Regions from separate parts of the Homo sapiens genome. Here all the other regions are linked to region 3. The links are contacts of gene promoters, found by promoter capture Hi-C in blood cells and fetal thymus (Javierre and others, 2016). All regions are on one chromosome and are shown on one strand. Each heading gives the region's core, a stretch centred on a gene start or on the middle of the fragment in contact. The rest is flanking DNA. Distances are from core to core; before and after follow the strand shown. Region 1 holds the start of MTCL1 (microtubule crosslinking factor 1). Region 2 holds the start of RAB12 (RAB12, member RAS oncogene family). Region 3 holds the start of VAPA (VAMP associated protein A).

Region 1 (3,763 bases), core at 466-2,965, 1.2 Mb after region 3:
CTCACCGAAAACGGCGCGGCCCCCTCTACCCGGGATGTCGGAGCCCAGGAGACCCTGAGAGCCCCCAGCTCTTTCCGTAATTGCAGGAGAAGGGGCAAGCGGGTCCGTAGCCGGGGGCCCTCCAGTGGCATTATCCTGAACCGCCACGCCCGCACGTGGCCCGGCTAGAGCTCCCTGGCGAAGGATCACCTGTTCCTACAGGTGAGGCTGGCACGTTCTGAGCGGGGATGGGGGCGTCCGCTGATGTCCCCAAAACGATTACAGCCTCCTCTGCCCCAACAGGTCAACAAAAGTAAAAGTATCAGCGAAGAGACGCAAGAGTTCTAGACGCGAGAAAAGAGAAGTGGGTTGCGAACTGGCGGGGTCCCACAGGTCTTGCTTCTCCTTCCAGAAGTTTGGGCTTAAGTTGCCAATGCCTGACAATGCGGGGGTAGGACCGTGGAGAGCAGGAGGGAGAAGGCGCTGGACAGGCCCGGGAAGGAGGGGTTGGCGGGTCCCCGCCGCAGCCAGGCCCTCCGGGGGCGCCCCGGGACACCTGCGGCCGAGGCGCGGCTCACCTTGAGATAGTCGTTCTCCGAGCGCAGCTCCTCCATCTCCCGCAGCAGCTCTTCTTCCTCCGCCGCTGGCACGAGCCGAGACTGCTCGCCCAGGCTGGGCTCCTTGGGGGTCCCGGGGACTGGTCGCTCCGGTGGCGAGCGCCCCCGGACATCCTCCGCCACGCCGGGCCCCGCGAAACCCCCCGAAACCCCGCTCGGGATGCTCCGGCCCCCGGGACAGGCGCCCGCGGCGAGGGGCGCGGCGAGGAGCGCTGGGGGCTCGGGGCTGCCCGGCGGCGCTCCTCGGGCTGCGGGGCTCGGCGTCGGCGCTCCTCGTGGGGGTTCACGGTCGCTGGAGCCCGTGCCGGATTCGGCGTCGCTGCTGGCGGCAGGGAGCAGGCGCTGCTCGTCGGACAGGGGTTCGGAGGGGCAGTCAGAGAGGTCGGAGCTGCTGTCCGTGTGGCTGATGCGCGAGCAGCGGGCCGGGGACCCGGCCACCGAGGTCACCGCGAGGGTCACGGCAGGGATCCGGGCGGCCGGGGTCGGGGGGCCGACGGTGCGGGCGGGTGGCGCCCGGGAGCCGCGCTTGGCTTTGCGGCCCTTGGCAGCGGCAGACGGCGGCTCGGCTCCGGGAGGCTTCCCAGCCCGGGACAGCGGCTCCGCGGGCGCCACGCGCGCCGCCCTCCTGCTTCCCAGGGCAGCCTTGGCACCGCCCGCCGCTCTGGCCCCGGCGCCCGGCGGGGGCTTGTCCTTCGCGCCCGGGACGCCGCCACTGCGCCGAGAGAGGCGGCCGGGCGCGGCCAGGGACCCCGGCGAGGGCGGCGCTTTGCCCGCGAGGTTGGGCGAGCGCGGGGCGGCGGGAGCCGGGGCTCGGCCCGAGGAGGGGACGGCCGGGCCGGGCGCGGCGGGCCGGGCGTGCAGGTCCTTGAGGAAGGGTCTGGCGGGCGAGGGCGCACGGTGCAGCCGCCGCCTTTCGGCCACCGGGTGGAGGTGGTGGTGGCGGTGGTGCTGGCCGGGCGGCTGCAGCTTCGCGTCCGGGGCACCTCCGCCCGCGGGGCCGTTCAGTGTCTCCATGGCCGGGTCCGCCGGCAGCAGCTCAGGCAGCAGATGCTCCGGACGACGACGGCGGCGGCGGCGGCGGCGGCGGCGTGCAGCCTCCCCGCGCGCTCTCTCATCACTGTCCCAGCCCCGCCCGGGCTGCGCCCCGCGCTCCCGCCGTCCCCGCCCCCCGCACCCCGGCCCCGAGGATTCCCGCGGGGCTCGCCGCCGCCGCGCTCGCCCCTCGCTGAGGTCACCGCGGATCGAGTTCTCCCGGCTCAGCAGCGCGGCGGCTCCCGGCCGCTCGCATCCCCGGACCTCGCGCTCCGGGCTCGCGGTCACCGGTGCCGCGGCGGCGCTGGCGGCGCGCGCCCGGCTCCCGCGTCCCGCTCCCCGCCCACCGCCGGCCCGCTGCTGCCCGTGCCCGCCCCCGCCGCTCCCGGCTGAGAGAAGCCGCACGCGCGCGCCCCACCTCCCCGCCGCCCAGCGCCCTCGCCCAGGCCCGTGCGCATGCCCCGCCTCCAGCCAGCCGGCGCCGTGCAGGGGAGGGGCGAGGGAAGGGGCGGGGGCTTGCGCTCCCCGGGGGGCGGGCGCCCGGCAGGGGCGGGACCTGCGCGCCCTTGGGAGCAGGCGCAGGCTGGATCCATGGGGCCTCGCTGCCCGGGGACCCTCCTTGCTTTTTGAGGCCCTAGAGACGCTGCCAGGAGCTAGGGAGGAAGGGAAGAGGCGGAGGTGAAGTGGTGGCAAGGGGCGGCGCCGGCCACTTGGGGAAGGCGTGTGCCGCGGCTGACAACACCCCTCTCATGCCTCTCCATCCACCGCCCGCCTCCCCGAGGCCAGTCACCTCCCTCGCTGTCCTCTCCAAGCTGTGCCCCTGGTCCCCGAGCTCCTTTAAGGATCGCTGGTACCCGACGCAGCTCTCGCGTCTAAACGGCACGGCGGGCGCTCCACAGTTGGCACCCCCGTGGCCTCGGGAGCTCAGGAGGAGCTGCTGCCCAAACAGGAGGAGCCCTCGCCAAACCTGGGGGTCAGAAAGGGAACTCACATTTATAGTTCCGGCTGCGAGCCAGGCCTGCTGGCCACTTACTGAGCAGTGTTTTATTTAAGCCTCACCACAGTCCCAGATTGGAATTGCTGTCTTCGGTGAAGACTAGGGCACCGGCGCTGGGAGGTGAAGTCACTTGCCTGCGATGCCTCACCCAGTCCCTAGCTGAGCGGGTTTAAACCCAGGTCTTCAGGATTCCGAGTCCTGCAGGCTTTCCGCTCAGAGCCCGGAGCCCGGCCACCGGTTCTACCACTTGAGTCTCCCATGCGCAAGGCACTAGACCTTTCTGAGCCCCAGTTCCCTCGCCTGTATCATTAAAACGTACTGCCACCTGAGCATGTGTGAAGATTTAGCAAATACCAGAACACACCGTGCAAACTGTAAAGTACAGTTCACATACCATTGGGTGCAGTTTATGTCCCAGGCGTTGGATGTTGGCCAGTGCCCATAGGAATAGGGGCCAGCCTGTCCTCCAGCCCTGGCGTTGCAGGAGGCAGAGGGTCAGGTAATAATTACAAGGAGGAGGGCGGGAGCATAACCCTGCCTGGTGAGGCTCGCATTTTCCTGGAAGGACGGGTTGGTCTCTCAGCTGAGGGCCCAGGACACAGTAGAGCCTGCAGAGAGCAGGGCCCCTGGGCGGGGAGGCAGGTAGGTTAGGGATTAGAGGGGAGACTGGAGGGTGTGTGGCACCAAATATCCTACCAAGGCCGTTGGGCATTATCCTAGAGGCGGTAGCCACGGGGTATTCTGAGCAAGATGATCTGATGTGCTCAAAAAGACCCCGGGGGCAGCAACCTGGAGGAGAGGGAGGTGGGCCACGGGAGCTGCGAGCGGCTGTGGCAGTATGCGCGGTGAGGGGGCCTTGGGAGCAGGGACAGAGAAGAGGGGGCCGACTCGCAAAAATAGGAGGAAAAAATCGACTCCAAAGTCTGTGATCTTAACCACAGATTTACCCTACTTAGCCATCTCCTTCAAAAAATGCAGGATGAACCCTTTTGTTGTAATCCCTACGTCAGGAGAGCCCTGCCCCGAAGTCGTCCTGCCTCGCCCTGGCTGAGCTCTGGGGGCACTGAGACCTCGCCTGCTCTGCTGCTGTTGTGGTCTTTGTGAGTCGTTTTTCTGGGAATGCCTCTGAATGGGAGAC
Region 2 (3,764 bases), core at 1,084-3,583, 1.3 Mb after region 3:
AACTGCTTGGTCTCCTTGCCTCCTGGTTTCTTCCTTATTCCCAAGCATCCTCCGCAGCTCTTCCTTATTCCCAAACATCCTATGCAACTCTGCCAAACTGTTTTCGTGCCAATGCCTTACTAAGGAGTCTTTTGGTTCCAGGTGCCCATAGGATCGGGTCCATTCTCCTTAGCATGGCGGTCAAGGTCTCGCAGCATCCATTCCCAAGTCCCCTAAGGAACCCTCCCCAGAGGTGGGGGGCTGCTCCACTGCTGCCAGGCTTAGAAAATCCTTCTTCCTCTCTCCTCTTCTGCATTCTAAAGCACACCTTTGCTCATCCATCTCACCCTCCATCCACTCAAGCCCTCAGTTACCCACCTATGGGTACCTGATTTCTCTTCATCACACAGTGCAACTCTATTATCTCTCATTTTTATATACTGAAGTACGGAGCCATAAAATATTGACAATTCTAAACGGAATTTAACCCTACTTTATTTATGTCAGGTACTAAAATAACAGCCTAACCCTCATTTGATGGTTTAACAACTCCCTGTACTCTGCATGATCCAAGACTGGATATTTGAAACAGGTATAGTTATGCTACTCATTTTAATATAATGTCTCCAACGACAACATTTTAAAAACATATGGTACAGACATCACAAATATTTCCAAAATGATCTATTCCAAAAAAGCATTAAGGGAAGTAAGTTCTTGAAAACAAACCAAGAAAGACAGTACAAAAATTGGAGGTTTCACTTTCCAATAAGACACTTTAAATGTAGTACTGTTTTGTTACATGACAATTTCAAATCAAGTCATCTCAAAATCGTACTGACAGCCTTGGAACTACCACTGGTTATAACACTATTAATAAATAGAATTACATGAAATTATGCTTTTAATTCTATCAAATCTCCTGACTACTCAGTTTCTTGGACCGCCCCTGGGGAAATCTCTCACTTCCTATCACGGAAGTGACTGCCCTTTATTTTAAAGAACGGGGTTCTCCTAGTTTGGACATCTTTTAAGGGGTTTTCCATAGAAACAACTGCTACCCACATCCAACTGAGAAATCTCAATGTCAAGTCCTCTAAGCATGACTTAATTAAAAAAATTTCCCCTGCAGTTTCCATTTCAGATCCACGGCTGTTTTCCTCCTTGACCCTGGAGCGTTCCTGTACTTACTTCACTCCTGTCCCTCACCGAAAACAGCGGTACTGGAGGAATCAACCCCATGCCCGCCAGTCACCGGGTTGTTTGAGGTCATGGATAAATACAGCTGAAGCTCCTCTGCCCCGTACGTACGGCTAGCACGAGAAACTTACTGTAGTTTTAGTTTTAACATTCTCCATAGGTGACTTTAAACTTCATTTCTTGAAAATGGGTTCAAAATAAGAAAACTGCCCTGGTTGCGCAGGGATCACACCCGCAGCAGACGGCGCGCGCTGGCCTTGGCGGGCCGGGCGAGAGCGGCCTTAGGCGTTCACTCCCCTGCCTGCCTGCGCTCCACTCGAACCCAGCTTTTTCTTGGGCGAGTATGCTAAGGGCCGAAGTTTCCGTGGAGAGCCGCCCCCACAGGCCCCGGGGGCTGCCAGGACCTCTGAGGCAGGGCCGGGGGCCAAGGGCAGGTCTGCCCGGAGGCGGCACGAAAACCTCTGCCAGGCTTTGGGATTGGGATGCAGGGCGCTCCAAGGAGACCCCCGCCCCTAGTTTCACCGAGAGGCCCATCCCCGAAAGACTCCCAGGCTCGATGAGACTCGAAGCCCACGGGGCGAAGGGCACCTGCCCGGGCGCCAGGAGGCCCGGCCCAGGGTCGCCGTGGCGCCCTTACCCACGGTGGACTTGCAGGCCTCGCAGAAGGTGTCGTCGGTGAAGCGCTCCATCAGGCTGGTCTTGCCCACGCCGCGGGAGCCGATAATGATGACCTGCAACTTGAAGTCGGCCGGCCTGGGGGGCTGCTTCCTCCGGCGGCCCTGGCCGCCCGACAGCGCCGGGGAGCCCGCGCCCAGACCGCCGCCGCCCCCGGCCCGCCTCTGCAGCGCGGCGCCCGGATCCATACACGCATGCGGCTCCCGCTCGGCCCGCCGCCCGCCGCCGCCCGCCCCCCGGCTGCGCGCCCCGGGCCCCGGCGCCCCCTCGGCCTCCGCCGCGCGCGGGGGGTCGGCCCCGGGCTCGGCTTCCGCCCGCTGGAGCGGCCCCGGCGGCCCGTGGGCTCCGCGCTGCAACTGCGCCGCCGGCCGGCTCTCTGCGCCCGGGTCCCCTCCTCCTCCTCCTCCGCCGCTGCCGCCGCCGCCGCCGGGAGAGGAGGAAGGGAAGCAGCTACTCCGCAGTAGCGGCAGCAGCATCCCGGACGAGGAGGGGCAGGAAGCGCAGGCGCGGGCGGGGCGGCTGGCCGCGAGGGGCCGGAGGCGGGCGGGTGGGCGCCCCCTGCCGGCGGGAGGACCGCGCGCCCGGGCCTCGGTTGGGTACTGCGCGCGGAGCTTTCCCGCAACCCGCGCCGCTCTTTCCCTGCCTCTGCTCGCCTGCCCGCCCCCGCTTCCCTCCCTCTTCCGCCGGCTCTTTCATCTTTTCTTCCTCTTATCTCTTCCCTTTTCCCCCTTTTCACTCCTCCCTACTCGGCTTTCACTCTGACCCGCATTTATAGTTAACACAAGAAACTTAGTGTGGTTTTAGTCTTAAAATTCTCCGTAGGCAATTTTGAACTTCAGCATTCCGGTGCATCATGAAAATGGGTTCAAAATAAGAAAAAGAACCCTGGTTGACAGTGAAAACACTCCCATGCGCACAGTCCCCAAACACCATGCACATGTTTTCGCCCCCGCGCGCTCGGTGTAGCTGGAACGCTGGAAAGGCCCCGACCTGAGGCCGCGCCGCCGGGCCGCCTGCGCTGCGTTCGCGTCTACACCAGCGCTCTCTCACAAACACCAGCGGGTGCAAGCCCCCGCACCCTCTACCGGGCCGTGGCACTGCTCGGTCTCTCTCCGTCACGTCTGTCTCCCATTTTGCACGGAAACGCGCGAAATCAGTTATTTTTAACTCTGATCGCTGTCTCACTCAGAGTTCAGAAGTTTTTATGCTGTTTAATTTTTAAATTAAGTAAATGGCATACTCCTTTGGGGGAATAAGCGAGTTAAAACTCAAACAGTGCGAGAAGATTGAAACTTTAGGAATTATGGACTCGGGTCGTATGTTTTGCCATTTCTGTTTGGAAGGATTTAAGGATACAGAAAATCACTGCTGATTCCTTGCCAGAGATTTGTTTAGCAAATTCCTCAGCTTGAACTTGAGCATCTCAGAACACAGGGTTCTGAATATGATAGGGGCTGGCAACATTTGCCGAATGATCACGTTACCCACAAAATTTCAGCTGTGCTGTATTTAGAACTAGGTTTAGTAATGCACAGTACACGCATATGTTACACAGCAAACCTGATTTGTAAAAATCTAGCGTTGCCCACAGTGTAGATTGGAAGTTTACATCTATGAGAGCATTCTTAACTGTGCAGTCACTGTAGGGATCTTTATAATATGAATTCTGAGAATATGTAAAATATGATCCCTCTATATTATTTGAAACACAGATCCATCACTTACCATCACGGAATTTACTTTCTTTCTTTCCTTCTTTCTTTCTTTTTCTTTCATTTTGTTTTGTTTTGATTTTGAGACAGCCTTGCTCTGTTGCGCAGGCTGGAGTGCAGTGGTGCGATCACAGCTCACGGCAGCCTGGAACTCCTGGGCCCAAGTGATTTTCCTTGCTTAGCCTCCTGAGCCGCTGA
Region 3 (3,783 bases), core at 471-2,970:
TCATAATTCCAGAATATATTTTAAATTCCTAAACCTGAAGTTTTTCCTATGGAAAACAATGTAGTTGGCTTTCTCTTGGACTCAGCCTTACACAACAATAAAGGATTTAATTTTTTCTTTTAGCACTAGAATTGCTATACACCTCACAAAAATTGTTCTCATTCAACAATTGAAATACAAGACATAGACTTCCAAAACGGGACTCACTTTACACTTAACTAAAGATAGGAAGGAACCTACTTTCTATTAGATGTTCACACTCTTTCAGTATTCCTTAAAAACAAAGAAAAAAAATAAAAATCTGTACATTTTAACTCTCTTTCCTAAAGTACACTACATATTGACAAGGAAACCGACCAAAAGCCCCTGGGATTCTTCCAGGATCACCAAGTCAGACTAAAAAACTTATCACAGGCAGTACTACAAAAACCTACAAAGTTCCAGAGCTGGGTGACACCTTATCAGCCTTCTCAGGATCTGTCGGAAACCGCAAACGTAAAAGCAAAAAAGTCACACGCACTGAAGGTTTCTCAGCAGAGGAGCTCAACTAAAGGGCTAAATAAAAGCACGCGGGTGGCACACTGAAATGTCGTAGAAGGCAGGAAGCCCCGCTACTATGAACCTACAACTCTCCGTTTGCGGCTGACGCATCGCTCCTGCCCGCACGCACCTGGGTCCGTGCCAACAGCACCGGGCAGCCCTCGCCAGGCACCTCCAAGGACTCTCCACCTCCCCGGCGCGTCCTACACCTGACGGCCGAGTTCTAAACCTGGCGGAAAGGTGACAAGCGACGCCCTCCGCGGAACCCGAGGGCCGGCTGCAGCGAGCTCTCCCCGGGCCGGGGCAGGGGTCGGGGGGCGGCTCTCACTCCCAAGGGGTCCCGCGCCGTGCCCTAGCCTCCCCGCGCCGCTGACAGCCGGGAGCGGGCGACAGACGCAGCTTGCGCCACCTCCAGAGCCCACTCCCCGCCGCAGCCCAGAGCGCACGCCCTCGGGTGCCCAGCCGCCCACGCCCCGCCGAAGCACGCCGTCGGCCTCTGGGGCCAAGGACGCGGGCCCAGGCGGACCGCGGCGCGGGCGGGACCGGACGCCCAGGAGGCGCCCCCGCGGGACCGCAAGATGGCGGCGGCGGCGGCGCCAGGGCCGGGCTCCCCTCCGCCTCGCCCCGGCCGGCGCGCGCACCGCAGCGAGGGCGGGCGGGAGGGGATGAAGCGGGCCGGAGCAAGGGGCAGGCCGGCCGAGGTGGCGGCAAGAAAGCAGCCGGGAAAGGGAAGGCGCCGGGGCGTGGGGGAGGGGGCGCTCCCTCGGGCCAGGGCCGCGGACGTGCCCTCCGCGCCCCCCCGCCGACAGCCAGCGGTCCGCGCGCCCCACCCCACCCGGGGGTGTCCCCGTTCTGCCTACCTTTGAATTTGAGGTCTGTGGGCGGATCGAGGACCAGGATCTGCTCGTGCTTCGCCATGGCCCCTGAGGCGGACGCCATCGGAGAGACAGCGCAGAGCGGGGGCGCGCCCGCGGCGGCGGTTTGCTGACTGGGGGCGGGGGACGACGGCGGCGACGGCTCGGCCGAGCTCTAGGACGAGGCCAGGCTCGCGGCTCCCGAGCCCTAACGCCTGCCGCTGTGTCACCGGTTCGGTGGGCCACCCGCTGGGTCAGCAGCTCCGGGTCCCACAACTGACTCAACCCCACACCAGCCGCCACGGCCACGCGCACTTGCGAGCCTCGGCGACCCACGTGACGGCCTCTGCGTGCCTACGTGCGCGCCCCCGGCCGGGAGCTTCTAGCGCTTGTCCCGCCCTCCAGGCCGGCCTAGCGCGGCGCGGGGCTGCTGCGCCTGCGCGCTCGCGGCTTGCCGCGGCCCGGAGCGCAGCCCAGCTGTCAAGGGAACGGGTGTGGAAGGAGGCGGGGCAAAGGTCCGCGGGACCGACGCGATGCGCAGCGCAGGGCTGGAAGCGCAGTCCTCTGTCACCTTGAGCTCCGAGTACGGAACTAGAGAAACTGCTCTGGCAGCGCATCACACTCTTCCAAGTGGGAATGCCCAGTGGAAGGGACAAGTAGTAGTAGGGAAGCGCCCACTCACTACAACTCCCGGCATGCCCCCTGCGGGGCGGGGCCTTCGCCGAGGGCCTGGCCCTTTGCGGCCCTGCGCGGTGCTTGCTGGGAACTGTAGTAACGGCTGTTTGAGGGTGGAAAGGAGAGCTAGGTCTGTTGGAGGCAATGGGGTGGGGTTCGCGGACGCTAATTTTGGCTCTCAGAGCGCGTCTAGTTTGCGCTAAAAAAGAAAAAACTTGAAGACTGAAACGAGGCCCCAATGTTAGAAATATATTAATAAAATCTGCCCTGTGGAGAACAGGCGTGGGGGGATGTGTCCGTTTGCTCTAATTCTATCCAGTCCTCTGTTGGCAGGGCTGCATTCCCCGTGGTATCCAATTCAGCCTCTCCTGCTTCCTGAGTTCTCTCCAGTGATGCAAAATCAGATAAGGAAACACACCTCGTCTAGGAAGCAAGGGGAAATATGACAAAGCACACAGAAACTAGAAATAAAAGTCAAAAATCTACACCATCGAACCCAAATAATCTTCTTCAGTTTTAATGATGGACCCAAACCAAAACAGTTCTCACGTTCACATGTTAGAAACTAACTCCATCTGCATCACTTACGATAGGCTGTAGTAAACTGAACCAAATAAGAAAAATCCCAGCAGCAAACTTGCTGACAAAACTTTAGCCGATTGCCAGGGTAGTCCGGTACAGGAACGTCAAATGAAACCAATGTGCTGTAAATAAACCTTTATTGTATTTTGTGATACGGTTTGAATTTAAATCCCTAGGTAGCGCCACGAAACAAAAGACATATTGATGCTACTGCCATGGAGCAGCACAGTTTGTCTAGAAAATAAACGAGACGAAACAGCAGTCTAGAAGTAGGCACCAAATCCAAGTTTTCATGTGCGATCCAGGTATTAGGGTCCATCCAGGAACAGCCTGCTGGAATTGCTAGCCTGGCATTCACAGAAGATTGTGCCACCCACGAGGAATGTGTTTTCAGCCCTGAAATTCCTGGGAGTGAGAGGTGAAGCCAGCTGGATTTCTGGGTTGGGTGGGGACTTGGAGAACTTTTCTTACAAGAGGATTGTAAAATGCACCAATCAGCACTCTGTAGCTAGCTAGAGTTTTGTAAAATGCACCAATCAGTGCTCTGTAAAAACGCACCTATCAGCACTCTGTAGGTAGCTAGAGGTTTGTAAAATGGACCAATCAGCACTCTGTAAAATGGACCAATCAGCAGGGCATGGGCAGGGACAAATAAGCCAATAAAAACTGGCCACCCCAGCCTGCAGGGGCAGCCTGCTTGGGTCCTTTTCCACATTGTGGAAGCTTTGTTCTTTTGCTCTTCACAATAAATCTTGCTGCTGCTCAGTCTTTGGGTTTGTGCCATCATTTCTTTCTTTCTTTTTTTTTTTTTTTTTTTTTGAGAGGGAGTCTCGCTCTGTCCCCCAGGCTAGAGTGCAGTGGCGTGATCTCAGCTCACTGCAAGCTCCGCCTCCCAGGTTCACGCCATTCTCCTGCCTCAGCCACCTGAGTAGCTGGGACTACAGGCGCCTGTCTCCATGCCCAGCTAATTTTTTTATATTTTTAGTAGAGGTGGGGTTTCACCGTGTTAACCAGGATGGTCTCGATCTCCTGACCTCATGATTCACCCGCCTTGGCCTCCCAAAGTGCTGGGATTACAGGACTGACCTAGTGATCCACCCGCCTTGGCCTCCCAAAGTGTTGGGATTACAGG

What was found. Contacts are between HindIII fragments. The CHiCAGO score rates a contact against its expected background, and 5 or more counts as called.
Region 1: the fragment with the promoter of MTCL1 here is called in contact with the fragment with the promoter of VAPA in region 3 in 4 of 17 cell types (total CD8 T cells, non-activated CD4 T cells, activated CD4 T cells and 1 more); the score reaches 8.2 in total CD8 T cells.
Region 2: a contact is called between the fragment with the promoter of RAB12 here and the fragment with the promoter of VAPA in region 3, in 1 of 17 cell types (total CD4 T cells). The highest score is 5.2, in total CD4 T cells.

What each region holds. Positions count from the first base shown.
Region 1 is chr18:8,703,508-8,707,270 of GRCh38, reverse strand. MTCL1 (microtubule crosslinking factor 1) reads right to left here and starts at 1,715. Exons shown (of 15, transcript NM_001395333.1): 1 at 558-1,715. The coding sequence starts at 1,610. It overlaps GACAT2 (gastric cancer associated transcript 2), which reads left to right. Exons shown (of 2, transcript NR_120598.1): 1 at 1-201. RefSeq lists silencers at 1,491-1,550, 1,931-2,370. The HindIII fragment of the contact is 5,801 bases long and covers 1-3,763 here.
Region 2 is chr18:8,608,006-8,611,769 of GRCh38, reverse strand. It overlaps RAB12 (RAB12, member RAS oncogene family), which reads right to left and starts at 2,333. Exons shown (of 6, transcript NM_001025300.3): 1 at 1,817-2,333. The coding sequence starts at 2,330. RefSeq lists an enhancer at 1,046-1,095 and silencers at 1,546-1,845, 2,276-2,505. The HindIII fragment of the contact is 24,115 bases long and covers 1-3,764 here.
Region 3 is chr18:9,911,953-9,915,735 of GRCh38, reverse strand. It overlaps VAPA (VAMP associated protein A), which reads right to left and starts at 1,720. Exons shown (of 6, transcript NM_194434.3): 1 at 1,401-1,720. The coding sequence starts at 1,479. It overlaps LOC124904245 (a long non-coding RNA gene), which reads left to right and starts at 1,788. Exons shown (of 2, transcript XR_007066284.1): 1 at 1,788-2,024; 2 at 2,403-2,803. RefSeq lists an enhancer at 601-1,218 and silencers at 736-1,525, 1,736-1,785. The HindIII fragment of the contact is 3,402 bases long and covers 1-3,376 here.